Linked DNA regions of Homo sapiens: region 1 is linked to region 2. Evidence: promoter capture Hi-C in human tissues and cell types (Jung and others, 2019). All regions are on one chromosome and are shown on one strand. Each heading gives the region's core, a stretch centred on a gene start or on the middle of the fragment in contact. The rest is flanking DNA. Distances are from core to core; before and after follow the strand shown.

Region 1 (2,700 bases), core at 117-2,616, 280 kb before region 2:
TGGAAATGTGGGGAGGCTCAAGCACCCCTTGGCGCCGCCCTGGTTGGGGGCCTTCCGCTCGGTGTAAGAGGTTCCGGGTAAGGGCTAACTCGGTGGCGACTACTGCCACCTTGAAGGGCACTCAAGGTGGACCTCCCCGCGGAATAGTCCAAGACGCAAGTCGGTGCGCACGTGGACTTCGTTACCCTGAGGGTGAAACCTCCAACTAGCAGGTCACTGTCCACCCTACCTCCGCCGTGCACTTACAGATACTGGCCAGGGCCCGGCACGCGCCACAGCTGCACGCCTCTCAGCTGCCCGGCGGCCCCCACGGTCACCACCACGCTGGTCCCCGCGTACGCCCCGTCACATTGTGTCTGTGTGGGCCCATGCCGGCCGCTGGCCCCGCAGGTAGAAAACAGCCAAGACCCCTCGGTGCCTGAGAGCAAGGAGCGAGGCAAGGGTCGTCGAGCCCCTGGCTGGGCCAGAGGGGTCTGGTATGGTGAGCGAAAGAGGAAGGAGGCGTCTAAAGCTCACCCGGAGAATTCAGCGGGGAGGCTGGCTCCAAGATACTAGGCGGGGCGCTGACTTTCGGGTCCCGGGGGCTGGGACTTGCCAGCGGCAGGGGCGAGGACCGCAGAAAAGTCTCCTGGGACCCCGGGCTAGAGCAGAGAATGGCGCCTGAAAGGTGTTGGGAGAAGGCGCAGGACGTTAAGGCGGGTGGAAATAGGATATGAAAGAAAGAGAGAACCCCGCAACAGCTGCCCTTGCGGTCGCGGCCACACCCGTCACCCGGCCCAGCCGCGCTCTCAGCCTGGAAGCCACTACCCGACTCCGGTCGCAGAAGCCCCGCGGGTGCGCGCTGATAGGTCTGCCAGTTTCTCTCCTCGAGCGCCTTTCCCAGTGAATAACTTAGGGGCCGCAATGAATTTGGTCCTGCAGCCTCCCCAATGCTTTCCTCAACTTAGATTGGTGGCCCCGCCCCAAGGCGGTGCTGAGACCCCAAAGAATGTTCCTCCTTCCCAAGCTGCGTGATCCAGACTCTGGGATTCGCACGCACTTGGCGCTTCTCGGCCCGCACTCCAGAAGCACGGACCGGAGAAATTTGGCTGTGAGAGTTCGAGGCCTCTGGAGGAACCACTGACACCTGGCCTGTTGACCGGCCACCCCCAAGCCTAGGAAAGTGCCTCAGGCTGGACGGTCCCCTGACCGCCAGATAGCACTTACCCGCGGCTCCGAACCACACCAGCAGCTGTCCCCAGCAGCCCATCCCTGTTGGGTCCACCCGGCAACAAAAGCCCTTGCGGTCGCGGCCACACCCCTGTCAACCTAAAGTTGACAGCTCATTTTGCCACGGCAGCCCTGGCCACCACTTACAGGGGTGTGCTGCCGCTGGCGAGACACTCCCCGGACCTAAAGCTGGTCTGGCCACGCCCACCTCAGACCCCAGGACGCCAGAGGAGGAAAGGGAGGGGCGTGTGGGCAGCGAGGTCCCTACGCTTCCGGGAGGAGCCTTAAGGAGTCCCCACCCAGGGGTTCTAGTTTCCAGCCGTCAGATGTGCCGCAGCCTGCTGGGAGCTCCGGTAGGTTTGAGGCCGGAGAGGAGGTGCCCCACGCTTAAAGTGGGAGCCACACCTCGGACACCAGGTGGGGGCTTCCAGGTTCCTGAGGACAGGAGCAGTGGAGTGTGCACTTCATTTGTGGCAGTGGTGGTGGTGGTGAGTGTGTGGCATGCGTCACCACACGTGGGAAGTACTCTAAACTGCTCCAAGTAAGGCCTCATTACCTGCCATTACTTGTGCCTTTTAGTGGTGCCTTTGTGACTGCAAGGCTGAACCTCATTGCTACTCCCAGAAACCTGGATCTCTGTGTTTGCCTCATATAATTCCGTTGCCTGTGTTACCCCTGTGCACAGCCTCTCACTGTGATGGGGTGAAAGACTGGACCAGACGTTAGAAGATCCGAGTGTTTTTAGTAGCACTGAAGGTCAATAGATGATAGGTAGGTAGACCGATCGATCGATTGATCTTGAGCACTAGTACTGGCACCTCTGGTCAATGGGTGATGTAGCACAGGCCACAACTGCCCTGAGAGTTTCCCCACCACCTGCAAAATCATATGAAGGGAAATTGCTCTGTAAGGTACCCTACAAATGTGGGAGCCACTCCCTTCAGGTAGTTTTGTGTCTTGAGTCTTCGATCATTTGCTTAAATGATCATTTGCCGGGTGCGGTGGTTCATGCCTGTAATCCTAGCACTTTGGGAGGCTGAGGCGGGCAGATCACCTGAGGTCAGGAGTTCGAGACTAGCTAGACCATCATGGCAAAATCCCGTCTCTACTAAAAATACAAAATCAGACACACGTGGTAGCGCACGCCTGTAATCCCAGCTACTCTGGAGGCTGAGGCAGGAGAATGGCTTGAACCTGGGAGGCAGAGGTTGCAGAGACGAGATCGCACCATTGCACTCCAGCCTGGGCAACAAGAGCAAAGCCCCATCTCAAAAAAAAAAAAAAAAAAAAAATCCTAACTTGAAAGTCTGAGACCTATGTTTAATACAAAATACTTCAAAAGAGAAGTTATAGTAGTTAGCTACTTGGTAAAGTCTGAGTATAATTCAAGGTGTAAACAGAACAGTGATTTTGTAAAAAGTCTGGTCTCAGCCAGGCGTGGTGGCTTACACCTGTAATCCCAGCACTTTGGGAGGCCAAGGGGACGGTGGG
Region 2 (2,700 bases), core at 38-2,537:
TGCGTTAAGTGGCAGTTCTCAGAATCTGGTAGAGAATCTGCTTTGTGAGATTAGAGTGTAGTGTGTGGGCAAGAGACAAATATAGTTCTTAACCTGCAGGAAGGGAGGGGAAGGCGAAGAGTGCTCTGCCTTGGACAGGTCTCTGACATGCTTGTTTATAGAAACAGCAAGTCCATGGTTTGGCTGGAATGACTTACAACTCAGGTATTTATAACTTGAATTGAGTGGGATTGAGAAGTGGGGGAAGGGAAAAGGGGGAAGAAAGTAGCTGGTGGCAACAAAACATAGCAACAAAAACAGATCTTTTTCCTCACAGTTGCTGGGGTTTCTTTACCAGTATGAGGTCAGCCAAATCCTAGGGGACCCTGGCCTTTTGTGACTCTGGCCTCTTAGTTCTCTATCTCAAGGGAGCAGCCACTCCCGTGCCATTGCAGACTTCCTGTAGTGGTCCCTCACACTAAAAGGGAAAGCATTTCCTGCCAACTTCTGTTGTGGGTCCAAGCAGGAAGCCCTTCCTAACAGTGCCACTGTCTTGGCTCCACCTGGACTCGCTTCCATTGGCTAGTGCCTGTCCTCTAGCTCGTGAACTGATCAGATCCAGGGACTTGAGAGAGCAGAAAAGCTTCGAAGGCCCTGCCCAGTGTCTAGGATTGTATGTTTAGGGCTCTGGGACCGCTTGGGATCTTATGCTGTGCCACCTCTGTTGAGGATGGCTCTGGACTCTGGAGAGTTCTGTCCTTGCCTCCTTCATTTCTTTCAGCACTCACTATTAATCACCCCTCCCTTCTGGGAGCTCTCCACTTCACTGGCTTCCTGGTTCTCCTCCTCTCTTTCTCACTGCCTGTACCTCATCTTCTCCATGCTCTAAAAATAGGTGTTGTCTGAGGTTGGGAGTTTGAGACCAGCCTGACCAACATGGAGAAACCCCGTCTCTACTAAAAATATAAAATTAGCCAGGTGTGGTGGCGCATGCCTGTAATCCCAGCTACTTGGGAGGCTGAGGCAGTAGAATCACTTGAACCCGGGAGGTGGAGGTTGCTGTCAGCCGAGATCGTGCCATTGCAGTCTAGCCTGGGTAACAAGAGTAAAACTCCATCTCAAAAAAAAAAAAGACTGCAATCTGCAGGCTGGAAACTACTGTTCTATCTAGTATGAATGAGCAGTCCTGTCTCTTGCCTCTACGCCACCTGTTTTTTCCATCTACTTTAATGAGAGCCAGAAGAGCACTTAAACACGTGGCTTTATTCTTTCTTTCTCTCCTGGGAATAGGCTAGTATGAAGTTACCCCTTTATCTTATTAAAGTGAGAGATGATTTTGCTGGCCCTCTTTCTCTCTGGAGGATATGATAGTGCTCTGCCTAGTTCCTACTGGGAGTGGTGGGTATTCAAGCCCTCCCTCACATTATACTTGTAGTAATTCTGCCTCCAGTAGCCTTGCTTCAGGGGAAAGATGACACCTCTGTCAGGTTGGTATACGCTTTCTTCCATCTCAACACTGTCCACCTGCCAAAGCAAAAGCTGGGTCACAGTTTGGGTATTCTCCATGCTTCAAGGCTGCATTCTGGGTGTGGAGGAGCTCACTGTAGAGAACCAAGTGGGTCCTCTCTTCTTCCTTCTGAGTTTCCACTTGTGCATGAAGCAGTGTTCCTAGAGCTGTAGATGGATGGGTCAGGGTGCCAGCTGCCTGCAGCAGTTGTGTCCCAAGTCACTGCCCAGACACAGTTGCCTGGACTGGTGTGTCTCCTGGGCTGTATTTCATCGGCATTTGGGCCTTGAAGGTTTGGAGCTGAAGTTCCTGTCAGAACTTTGGGCTGAATCCCAGACTTTATGGACAGTAATTTTCTCGCAGGGCCTCTTTCCTAACTCACTTTCTTCAAGCGATCCTTGAGGCCAGAACTCTCACTTGTGGGCTTGCTTCCTCATGTGGAAAGATGCTGTAGTATTTAGAGGGGTGGGTCATTGGTTCTCAGAGTGTGGTCTGAGAAGCCTGGAGTCCCCAAAACCCCTTTAGGGGGTCCATGATGTCCTGTTTCCAACTACATATCCAAATGAGGCTAGGTTTTCTTCGCATACTTCCACTAGATAATGTCAGGACAGATTGAATGCAGATGCAGATATGAGAACCCAGCTCCCTTCTGTTAAGCCAGATATGAAAAAGGTTTGCAAAAATGTAAAACAGTGCCATTCTTCTCACTAATTATTTTTGTTTTGGAAAATAAAGTTATATTTAATAAGAACGCTAATATGTGGGCTGGGTGCAGTCGCTCACGCCTGTAATCCCAGCACTTTGGGAGGCCGAGATGGGTGGATCATGAGGTCAGGAGATCGAGACCATACTGGCTAACACGGTGAAACCCCGTCTCTACTAAAAATACAAAAAATTAGCCGGACGTGGTGGCATGTGCCTGTAGTACCAGCTACTCGGGAGGCTGAGGCAGGAGAATAGTGTGAGCTTGCAGTGAGGCAAGATTGTGCCACTGCACTCCAGTCTGGGTAACACAGTGAGACTCCGTCTCAAAAAAATAAATAAAAATAAAAAAAGAATGTTAATATGTAATGGGTTTATTGTTATTTCTAAATGATTTAGTAAATATTTTTAATGTTTCAGATTGTGATTTCAAATATAGTAAATATTGATAGACATAACCCGCATAAACAGAAGCTCTCTGTTGTCCTTGATAAGCTCTAAGACTGTGAAGA

The links. Contacts are between HindIII fragments. The study calls those that stand out against the background at their distance.
Region 1: the fragment with the promoter of LTK here is called in contact with a fragment that was not itself captured in region 2 in 1 of the 25 tissues and cell types used here (mesenchymal stem cells).

Annotation. Positions count from the first base shown.
Region 1 is chr15:41,512,461-41,515,160 of GRCh38, forward strand. It overlaps LTK (leukocyte receptor tyrosine kinase), which reads right to left and starts at 1,367. Exons shown (of 20, transcript NM_002344.6): 1 at 1,207-1,367; 2 at 517-660; 3 at 247-418. The coding sequence starts at 1,249. RefSeq lists an enhancer at 199-946 and a silencer at 653-732. The HindIII fragment of the contact is 13,334 bases long and covers 1-2,700 here.
Region 2 is chr15:41,790,957-41,793,656 of GRCh38, forward strand. The region is part of intron 2 of MAPKBP1 (mitogen-activated protein kinase binding protein 1); the gene reads left to right. Among named protein-coding and RNA genes, the nearest start is that of MAPKBP1, 18 kb to the left of the region's middle. The HindIII fragment of the contact is 8,436 bases long and covers 1-2,700 here.